3 separate regions of the Homo sapiens genome follow, and regions 1 and 2 are each linked to region 3. Evidence: promoter capture Hi-C in human tissues and cell types (Jung and others, 2019). All regions are on one chromosome and are shown on one strand. The core of a region is centred on a gene start or on the middle of the fragment in contact, and the rest is flanking DNA. Distances in the headings are between cores, read along the strand shown.

Region 1 (3,108 bases), core at 435-2,934, 91 kb after region 3:
GGTTTGCCTGAGCACCCACCCTCCCAGCTGGGCCTCCTGTCTCCCCTAAGACTGGCCCACGTGTGCACATATGTCTGTACCGTACTGTCCATGCCACTGGCCTGCTCTTGCCCGCCCTGGCTGCACGGGAGGAGGTGACAGTCTTAGGGGGAAGGGGCTGCCTGTGTGATAACATACCTGGTTCTCTGCAGCCCCCCACCTGGAGCACACCTTGCAGGGATGGGGGGTCCTGGGACATGGCTGAGGAGACCCTGACCTTGGAATAAGGTCATAGCACTATGCCCCAGGATAGTTTGGGGGGTCAGTAATAAGGGATAGAGCCCCAGCCTTCCTTGGGCAATAGGAAAGCAGGCAGCATGGATGGTCTTCACTGCCTCCAGCTCTGGCCACACCAGAGTCCTCGGGCTGTGGAGGAGTCCAGCCAGTGCTGTCCCCATATCTCCCTGTGGATCCCAGGGGAGGCTGTGGGGCCGGGCATATTAGAAGGGGCCCAGCAGCCTTGGTGAGTATAGATGTGCTTTCTGGGCTGCCCAGAGTTATTCAGGATTAGCAGGAAAAAAAGGGGGAGCAGGACCCAGATGGGGGCCTGCCCTTCTTAGCAGTGCCTCTCTGCCTTAGTGTCACCCATCTAATGGAGAGATATGCATATACAGAGCCCCACCTCCTTCGGACAGTGGCCCTGGCGTGGTGTGTGTTGGAGGACTGTCCACAGCCTCAGAAGCGAAGCTGGGGGAGGGTGTGAAGTCAGCCTGGGTAAGGGGACAGGAGTAAGGTAGGGGGCAGTTATGAAGCTGGAAGCTACAGGTACCATGAGGGCAGTGAGGAAAGGAGGAAGGGGCCCAAGGGGACCTCGGCCTGGTAGGGGAGATGGGTGGCAGGGACCTACAAGAAAAGTAGATGGAAGGAGAGGATGCCTGTGGGTGAGGACATGTAGGTAGGGGGACCTGGCCTGGGGCATGGAGGGCTCGATTCCTGAGAGATGAGCTGTCACTGTGGGTGGTCCCGCCCTCCACAGATGGGCGGCCCCCTCCCTGCAGGCACAGCTGGATTGCATCTGCCTGTGACATGGTAGGGGATGTGGGACACTGGGATGTATGCATAAGCATGACACAGGTTCTCTCCTCCTTCCGGCTTATCCCCTACAAAGAGGGGGTGAGTTACTTGGATCCAGGCCAAGGGGACCTTGGTTTCCCTAAGACCGGCCCAGAGTCACTCATTTGCCAGGGCTTCTTGCCTGTCAAGGAGATCCGGGTGGGGCCCAGGAGGCCCACCAGACAGATGGCTGAATCACAGGAGTGGCCGGCGGGACCCATGGCCTGAGGGCTTGTCTGGGCACCCCCACTGGATTGGGGGTGAGTCATCCCCAACTGCAGCCCCACCCCCCACGGCGCTGCTGCCTTGTGGCTCTGCAGGAACCTGTCCACTCCTCAGCCTGGTCACTGTGATTGACCTAAAGCAGCCAAGACCTGTGACCTTAGATGGAGTTAGGGGTACTCCCTCAGCATCTGCCCATGCAGAACCTTCTGGGAAATTCCCAGAAGCCACGGGGGGTCGGGGGGTTTATAGTTAAGTGCGTCATATCGTTTGTCTGGGGGAGGGGTGGGGGGGGCGGCGACCTCTCAGGGATATGGGTGAGGGCGGGTGCCTGGGTTCCCGCCTGCCGCTCCGCCCCCCGAGATCAGGGACTTTTCTCTGCTCTGCCCGAGAGACTGCAGCGGCGGCGGCGGGAGCGGGCGGACGCGCAGGCAAGACCAGGACTCGGGCTGGAGGGGCGCTGGGCTCGGACCTGCCAAGGCCACGGGGGAGCAAGGGACAGAGGCGGGGGTCCTAGCTGACGGCTTTTACTGCCTAGGATGACGCTGCGGCTTCTGGTGGCCGCGCTCTGCGCCGGGATCCTGGCAGAGGCGCCCCGAGTGCGAGCCCAGCACAGGGAGAGAGGTGGGCACCGCAAGGGAGGACCCGGCCCGGGGCACTGCACCGTGCCACCCTCCGCTCCACTCGGCCTTCATCCCCAACACCCCCCGCCCACAACCCAGCCAACTCCACGACGCCCCGCGGATTCCTCCTAATTCTGGGACTCCCCGAACCCTCCGCGATCGGTGCTGGGTTCCCTAAACCGCCTCCTATCCTGTTCCTACCCAAATTCTGGCTCCCTGGATGCGTGCGGGGTCCCCTGCCTTATGCCAATCCACGCCGGCCCCTAGAGGCTGACCTCAGTCCCAAGTCCACACCCGTGCTGGCGACTCTCCCTCCCCCGCACACCCCCAACCCTCCGCGGGAGTCTGCTCTGGGACCCACCGAGCTCAACTCCCTCCAAGGCCCTCAGGCTCAGGCCGATTCGGCCCTGGTTTGCATAAGATGAGGCCTACTCTCCCCACCATCCCAAGTCCCAGTGAGGCCACCGTGCGGGTAGGCGGGTGGTTGGCCTCCCAGAAGAGGCCCTGATCTCTCCTGCCCGCCCCAGTGACCTGCACGCGCCTTTACGCCGCTGACATTGTGTTCTTACTGGATGGCTCCTCATCCATTGGCCGCAGCAATTTCCGCGAGGTCCGCAGCTTTCTCGAAGGGCTGGTGCTGCCTTTCTCTGGAGCAGCCAGTGCACAGGGTGTGCGCTTTGCCACAGTGCAGTACAGCGATGACCCACGGTGAGTAGGGGCCCTGGGGGCTGGGGACCACGAGATCCCCACCAAGACTCCTTCCCCAGAGAGGGAGGAGACCCTGGAAACCCCAGGCCAGGTCTTTGCAGAAACAAGTTTTGGGGAACCTAGAGACCCCCTAGCCAGGACCTCCTTTGGAGACAGAGGTAAGGATTCCCTAGGTAGAACCTTCGTGCCCTGAGGCACCTCCAGGCTACTGCAAGACAGGAAGGTGCAAGACAGTGAGGCTGTGTTTTCTGATCTGGAGATGGGGAGCCCAGGAGGGGGCCCCCACGCCTGTTGGATTCTCCACGTTCTAGCCCTCTAACCCTTGCAGCCGTTCACCAGAGGTGCTCCATCTGGCCAGCATCCACTTTCCTACATCTGGACCCCTCCTCCTGCAATTATTTAATTAAGCAGCATCTTGTTCCCCACAGACTGTGAGCCCCTAAGGGCTCCTTCAGGTCTGCCC
Region 2 (3,552 bases), core at 457-2,956, 79 kb before region 3:
CTGCAAAATAATCTTTGATCACTCCTGCCTACTGTGATCTCCCCTTCTTACCTTGAAATTTATGTGGCACTTGTCTTCTGTAGTTTCATCAAGCACATTTCATATGCTCATATGCTGTCTTGAACTGTAGACTTTTTATTTTTATTTTATTTTTTTTTGAGACACAGTTTCAACTTATGTCACCCAGGCTGGAGTGCAGTGGCGCAATCTCAGCTCACTGCAACCTTAGCCTCCTGAGCTCAAGTGATTCTCCAGCCTCAGCCTCCCAACTAGCTGGGACTAGACAAACGCCACCATGCCCAGCTAATTTTTGTATTTTCTGTAGAGATGGGGTTTCACCATGTTGCACAGCCTGGTCTTGAACTCCTGAGCTCAAGTGATCTGTCTGACTCAGCCTCCCAGAATGCTGGGATTACAGGTGTGAGCCACTGCACCTGTCCTTGAAATGTAGACTTTTTATTCCTATGTATTTTGTTGTTGTTGTTGTTGTTGTTGATATTGTTGTTTTTGGGACATAGTGTCACTCTGCTGCCCAGGCTGGAATGCAGTGGTACAATCACAACTCACTGCAGCTTTGACCTCTCAGGCTCTGGTGAGCCTTTCACCTCAGCCACCCAAGTACAGACAAGTGCCACCATGCCCAGCTAACTTTTTTTGTGTATTTTTTCGTAGAGAGCGTGTTTCACCATGTTGCCTAGGCTGGTCTCATACTCCTGGGCTCAAGCAATTTGCCCACCTTAGCCTCCCAAAATGCTAGGAGTACAGGCAGTGAGCCACTGCATTCAGCCAACCTTCATATTTTGATATTTTATATTATCTCCCCATTAAGATTGTAAACTTTTTTAGGGTAAGAACAATCTAATTGTTCTTTTTTTAGGCAAGAACAATCTAATTGTTTTGGATTTTTTAAGTTTTTTTAAATCCTGGATTCTAAGGATTAAATGATTGTTTTATTCTCTCTTTTGGTGAGGTGTCTCTTTTTTTTTTTTTTTTTTTTTTTTGAAATGAGGGTCTCACTCTGTCACCCAGGCTGGAGTGCAGTGACATGATCTCGGCTCACTAGAGGTGTCTTTTTTGATATTGAACAGTGACAGTGAGCTCATAAATGTTTAGGTGTTTTCTGTTTTGGGTTCTATTTATGACCCATAGGTGGCACCTATTGAGTGCTAGATAGCAAGCAACAGCATGTGGGCATCTGGCTGGCTCAGGCTATAGGTCCTTTACTTCCAGTGATGACTCAAGATTGAAGTATCATTAAACACTTAATTAACACAGTAACTTACATATTCCTCTAATATTTGCTTTGGCCAGTTAATTAAACCATAGATGTTCCTGTATATAGGCATTTACTAGAATTTTCATATTCTTTCTTGTAGGACCGGGTGACTTTTAGAAGAATCATAGTGAAAAATAATGCAAAGAAGAGGAAGATGTTTGAATCATTTATTGAGTCTGTGCCCCTCCTTAAATCACTAGAGGTAAAGTGGCTTGAATAAGAATCTGTTCATGGGGATCAGGAAAAGCTTTTAAAACTATTCTGTTGTTAGGTTTTCAAATCATACTATTCTAATCCTATTTCTGTGCTGCATAGCTATTGTGACTTTCAATTAAGGTCTTTTCCTTTTATTTGTGAATTTGTTGTTTCAGGTGTCAGAACGAATGAAGATTGTGGATGTAATAGGAGAGAAGATCTATAAGGATGGAGAACGCATAATCACTCAGGTGAGTGAGGGCTTTACGCAGCTCCTTTCCTGGAAGTCACCCCTGAAGAACTAGTACATCATTTATCTCAAAAACTTCTTGCCGGACGCAGTGGCTCACGCCTGTAATCCCAACACTTCGGGAGGCTGAGGCAGGTGGATCACTTGAGGCCAGGAGTTCAAGACCAGCCTGGCCAACATGGTAAAACTCCATCTCTACTAAAAATACAAAAATTAGCTGGGTGTGGTGGCCCATGCCTGTAATCCCAGCTACTTGGGAGGCTGAGGCGGGAGAATTGCTGGAACCCAGGAGGCAAAGGTTTCAGTGAGTCGAGATTGCGCCACTGCCTCCAGCCTGGGCAACAGAGCAAGACTCCATTTCAAAAAAAAACCAAAAAACCTTCTATGTTCTCCCACTGTTGGGAGCTCTTATTACCAGGTAATAGATCATACTTCAGAGGACTATTATGTAGTCCTCTGAAGCTTATTGACGTCCGTCTTACTGACACGTGCAGATCTCTTGCTTCCTCTCACCTTTCCTTGGCTTCTAGTGTTTGTTCTTTTGATGTCATTTTCTTTTGACCTTAAGTAAGTTTCATCCATTGCTATTAGAACCTGGGGAAGGTTAAAGAGTTCTGTCCTCTAACTTTCTATATTTGACACAAAGGCATCCTTTTGGCTAATCTAACACAAATCAGAGTTCACAGTCTTCAGTGATTAACCAAATTTGTAAGATGTAAAGATTACTAAACAGTGGGCTAGATCATTGTAATGAGTACTGTCTGATAATTTTCTTTGTCCGCTGTGTTTGTATTTTTAATTAAACATAAATAGTATTGGACTTTTCCAGGTATAAGCTTATCTGCCTATGGTTCTGGCTCAAGAGCACGGAGAAGATACATGGTTGGTCTAGGTTGGGTGATATGCTTATCCTAGAACCCAGTACTGAGACTACGAGGAGGAAAGGCTCAGATTGGTCAGGTGTGGGTCCTGTGGGTGGAGTTGGCCCCACTAGAACACAAGGACTAATCAGACTTACCATAAAAGGGGAGAAAAAAGCTCCCTTGGAAGAGATAAAGGACTAACAAAAATATGATGTCTACTCTGAGTCACATCTCTAAATGTATTTGTTTTCTAGGAGCCGTTACTATTAATAATTCTTTTAATTAGAAATTGGAATATTCTATAAACATTTATTAAGATAGGTAGGACCAGATATGATAAGCACTATAATGAAGGAGAGTATGAACGACAGTGAGAACATAGAAATGGAAGTAATACATATGGTTTCATTGAGGAAATGCCATTTGAGATGGGCTTAAAAAACAAGTGCAATTTCAATGTTTGGGATCAGGGAAAGGTCCTTCAGAGCAAGAAAACAATATTAGCAAAGGCCAGTGGTGTGAGCTGTGTTTCAGAGCAGGTATCCTGGTATGGTAAGAATGTAGTGCTGAGATTCAGAAATGGGAGATGTTAACTGGCCACATTTGCTTCTGAACCTAAGGTGCTTTAAGTAACATTCAAAGGACCTTCAAGTCATCCTGAAGGTTCTAGGCCTGTCTCATACTGGGTTTTCAGGAAGTATGTCAGGAGATGTGAGAAGTCAATAGTGTTTTCTTCATGGTCTGTGCTCTTGAAGATAGAGTGCTATCTATCTTCAAGGTAGATAGGTAGTGGTACAGAATGGACATTAATTAAGATGATATTAAAAGGGGCTTATTGTAGGTCCCTTTTGTCAATGTCTCTCACTGGACCAAGGCTTCTCAAAGTGAGGTCCCAGGACCAGCAGCAATCAGCATCATCTGAGGATGTTAGAATTGTTAGGAATGCAAGTTCTGGAGCCCCCCACCAG
Region 3 (3,459 bases), core at 215-2,714:
GAGATTCTGCCCTGCCCCAGGAGGGCTTCTGGGAGGAGGAAGGGCCAAGAGAGGTCTTGAACTGAAGAGCCAGACCTGGTGCAGAGAAGGCAGGGTCTGGATGTCAGTTTCTAGCAGTTCTACCCCTCACCTGAACCTCACACTAGGCCTATGTACTTTAGGCCTAAAAATAGGCAACTGGGTCAGACAGACACCCATAATCCCAACACTGGGAGGACTGCTTGAGTCCGGGAATTTGAGACTAGCCAGAGCAACATAGCAAGACCTTGTCTCTACTAAAAAAAAAAAAAAAAAAAAAAAAAAAAAAAGCTGAGTGTGGTGGTGCATGCCTGTAGTCCCAGAGACAGTAGGCTTGAGCCTGGAAGATCAAGGCTGCAATGAGCTTGATCATCCCACTGCACTCCAGCCTGGACGACAGAGCAAGACCCTGTCTCAAAAAATAAATACAGATAAAAATAGAAAACTTGCACACACTGGCCTGTACACGCCTCCTGCTTCCTGGGCTCGGGCTTCCTGTGGAGCGTAGCTGGACCATTCTCAGCCACAGTCTCTCCAGGACCCTGAGGGCCTCTTCCCTGGGTCTTCCAGGCACTCTTATTACACGGATTTCATATATCTGGAGATCTGGGCTGACTGGAAAGCTGGGTGGATCAAATAGGCTCTTAAGGCCACCGTGGTACCCCACTCCCTCTTTCAGCCCTCCTCTATGCTCTCAGAAAGGGGCATCGCAAATCTTAAGTCCTATAAAGACAATAAAACACAGCAAGATGATAGCGATTGATGGGGGTGGGAGCTTGACGGACAAATACTATAGGAGAGGGAAGGGAAAATTGTCCCAGGTAGAGGGAACAGAATATGCAAAGGCCCAATATAGAGAAAACCAGCCATAGCTGAAGAGAGAGGAGGAGTAGGGGTGGGGAGCAAAGATGGGAGGGCTTTAGACAGGGAATAGCCCCGCCTGGTTTCTGCTTTTGTGGCCCCCTTCTCCCCACACTTGCTCCCCACTGGCCACCACCGGCACTCGGTGAAGACAGGTGGTGAGGCCTAGACACACCGAGAGCCGGGCCCCGCGGGGGCTTCCAAGTGTCGGATCAGCAAGATCATCCTTTCGAGGTCGCCGTCCTTGCAATTAGTAGATGGGACCCACTGCCCCAGGGCGGTAGGGGCGCACCCGCTACGAGCGGAGCGCGCTTTCACCGGGAGGTAGGACGGGACGCAGCGCTCGGACTTAAGCGGGGAAAGGGAGCAGAGGGCTGGACGGGTGAAACTGAGGCCGGGGTGAGGAGTGAGGGTGCGGTGTCCGGGGATGAGGGGCCTGGAGCCGGGAGGGACCAGAGGAGACAGCGAGCTGTCGACCCCAGCCCCGCCGCACCTCTTGGGGCCGCGCGGGGGCGCTGCTCTCCGATGCGTGGAACGATACAGCCCGGGGCGGGGCTTCGGCGGGCGGGCGCGCGCGCGCCTGCGTAGTGTGTCACGGGGCGGGACAACCGCGGCGCGGCTCGGCGCTCCCGGCCTGGCGTTGTGGCGCCGCAGCCCTTGCCACCTTCCCTGCACCTGCCCTGCCCGGCCTCATGTACCGCGCGCTGTACGCGTTCCGCTCGGCGGAGCCCAACGCGCTGGCGTTCGCCGCGGGCGAGACCTTCCTGGTGCTAGAGCGAAGCAGCGCGCACTGGTGGCTGGCCGCGCGGGCGCGCAGTGGTGAGACGGGCTACGTGCCGCCAGCCTACCTGCGCCGCCTGCAGGTGAGTGCGCCCCTTCCCGCCCGGCCTCCGCGCCCCTGGGGCAGGACCCCTTCACAGCCCCGCGGAACCGACCCAGGGACCCCACCCTCTCCGGGACCCGAGGCCAGGACCTCTATCAGACAGGGAGTTTGAGAACCTGACCCTGAGACCCCCGGACCCACGGGGACTGAGACCCCAAGTGTCAGCATCACCCACAAAAGACCAGGCCCTTGACAGACCAACTCCCGATCGACCAAAAGCCTAACTCTGGGACTGAGACTCCTCAGGACCCCAGACCCTTCAGTATCGAGTCCGCCATCTGAATGGCGACCCTGAGCCCCACCGAATCCTGGCCAATTATTCAAATCCCTGAGACCCCAGATCCTTAATATGCCCCTTCTCTGGATTCCTAGGACCCCACAACCAACCTCCCTCCCTCCCTCCCTCCCTCCCTCCCTCCCTCCCTTCCTTCTTCCCCCAACCCCGCGCCTTGCCCCCCGTTGGAGCCACCACTGAGACCTGGACCACCTTGGACACCACCTGTTTCCCTAGCCATTCTCCAGGTCCTCAACCCCCCAACTTGGACCCTAGAGCCATAGACACCTCCATCCCCTATGTAACACCCAAGCTTTGGTACTTCAGTGTCTTTCACTAGCCTGTGTTCAGCCACCCTCTAAGCTCTTCTTAAGTCTCTACCAACCTTATTTGAACCAAGGACCCATGCCCCTGCTGACACTGTCTGCTCCACTCCCCAACCCTGACTTCTCAAACTTTCTTGCTTTGAAAATGGGTTCCATCCCTACTTGTTCCCAGCCTGGAGTGGGGACTGCTCACATTGTGATGAAGTGAGTTCTTATAGCTTCTCCTGGTCTGATCGTGGCCCCATTTCCTTCCAGTGGAAGCTGCAGTCCCAGTTCCTGTTTCCCTAAGAGTAGCCCTGCTGCGGGGGTTGGGGTGCGTATCTCCAGCTGGTCTATTCTGACCACAGGGGGAAGAAGGGCCCAGAGCTGCCGGGCCTGTGCCAGACACCCCCGCCCCGTCCTAGTCCTTATCCTTTAGGAAACATCCTGTCCCAGCCCAGTTCAGGACAGAAATAACGGGATAAATTTGGAAGTGTCATCTGGTCTTACCAGGAAGGATGGGCCCTGGGGGCCTAGGGGCTTCCTCATAGACCCTTGGCGTGATCCCATCTAGGAGTGCCAGGGGTGGGAGTGGGGGCCGTGGACACCATGGCTGCTGTGTGTCAGACCCAACCTTTTTGGGAATGGGGTCTCATTGAAGGCCTCTGAGGAAAAGTCCTGTCTCTTCCCCTACTGGGCATAGGTCAAGGGCCTGTGAGTCCCCTGCCGCCAGCCAGGACCAGTGGGGCAAGGTGTTTGGGGAGGGCAGAGAGGCTACCATCTTCTCTGTCACTGTCTGTTTCTTTCTGCGTGTCTCTTTCTGTCTGGATTGCTGCGACTCTGTGCCTCTCTGCCTGTGTCGTTCCGACTCCACATGTGTGTGTTTTTGTTTCTTCCTCCGGCTCCCCCCACACTCTGGCTTTGGCTCTGTTTCTTTCTGCGTTGTTTCCCTCTGTCTGCCTCTCCGTTCCTCTCTGAGCTCCTCTCTTTCCCCATTCCTTTCTTTCTCTCTCTCTCTGTGTGTGTGTGTGTGTGTGTGTGTGTGTGTGTGTGTGTGTCTTCATGTCTTTCTATCCCCCTGTCTCCTCTCCCTGCACTCTGGCACACCTCATACCACC

What was found. The method cuts DNA at HindIII sites, captures the fragments that hold promoters and counts their contacts. A contact is called where the count stands out against the background at its distance.
Region 1: a contact is called between the fragment with the promoter of COL7A1 here and the fragment with the promoter of NCKIPSD in region 3, in 1 of the 25 tissues and cell types used here (mesenchymal stem cells).
Region 2: a contact is called between a fragment that was not itself captured here and the fragment with the promoter of NCKIPSD in region 3, in 3 of the 25 tissues and cell types used here (dorsolateral prefrontal cortex, mesenchymal stem cells and neural progenitor cells).

The regions. Positions count from the first base shown.
Region 1 is chr3:48,593,905-48,597,012 of GRCh38, reverse strand. COL7A1 (collagen type VII alpha 1 chain) reads left to right here and starts at 1,684. Exons shown (of 119, transcript NM_000094.4): 1 at 1,684-1,745; 2 at 1,853-1,938; 3 at 2,465-2,645. The coding sequence starts at 1,854. The HindIII fragment of the contact is 15,548 bases long and covers 1-3,108 here.
Region 2 is chr3:48,763,174-48,766,725 of GRCh38, reverse strand. PRKAR2A (protein kinase cAMP-dependent type II regulatory subunit alpha) reads left to right here. Exons shown (of 11, transcript NM_004157.4): 7 at 1,377-1,478; 8 at 1,648-1,722. Among named protein-coding and RNA genes, the nearest start is that of IP6K2, 48 kb to the right of the region's middle. RefSeq lists a silencer at 2,603-2,803. The HindIII fragment of the contact is 5,722 bases long and covers 1-3,552 here.
Region 3 is chr3:48,683,920-48,687,378 of GRCh38, reverse strand. NCKIPSD (NCK interacting protein with SH3 domain) reads left to right here and starts at 1,464. Exons shown (of 13, transcript NM_016453.4): 1 at 1,464-1,742. The coding sequence starts at 1,572. RefSeq lists enhancers at 957-1,026, 621-1,352 and silencers at 1,549-1,843, 1,237-1,956. The HindIII fragment of the contact is 9,717 bases long and covers 1-2,930 here.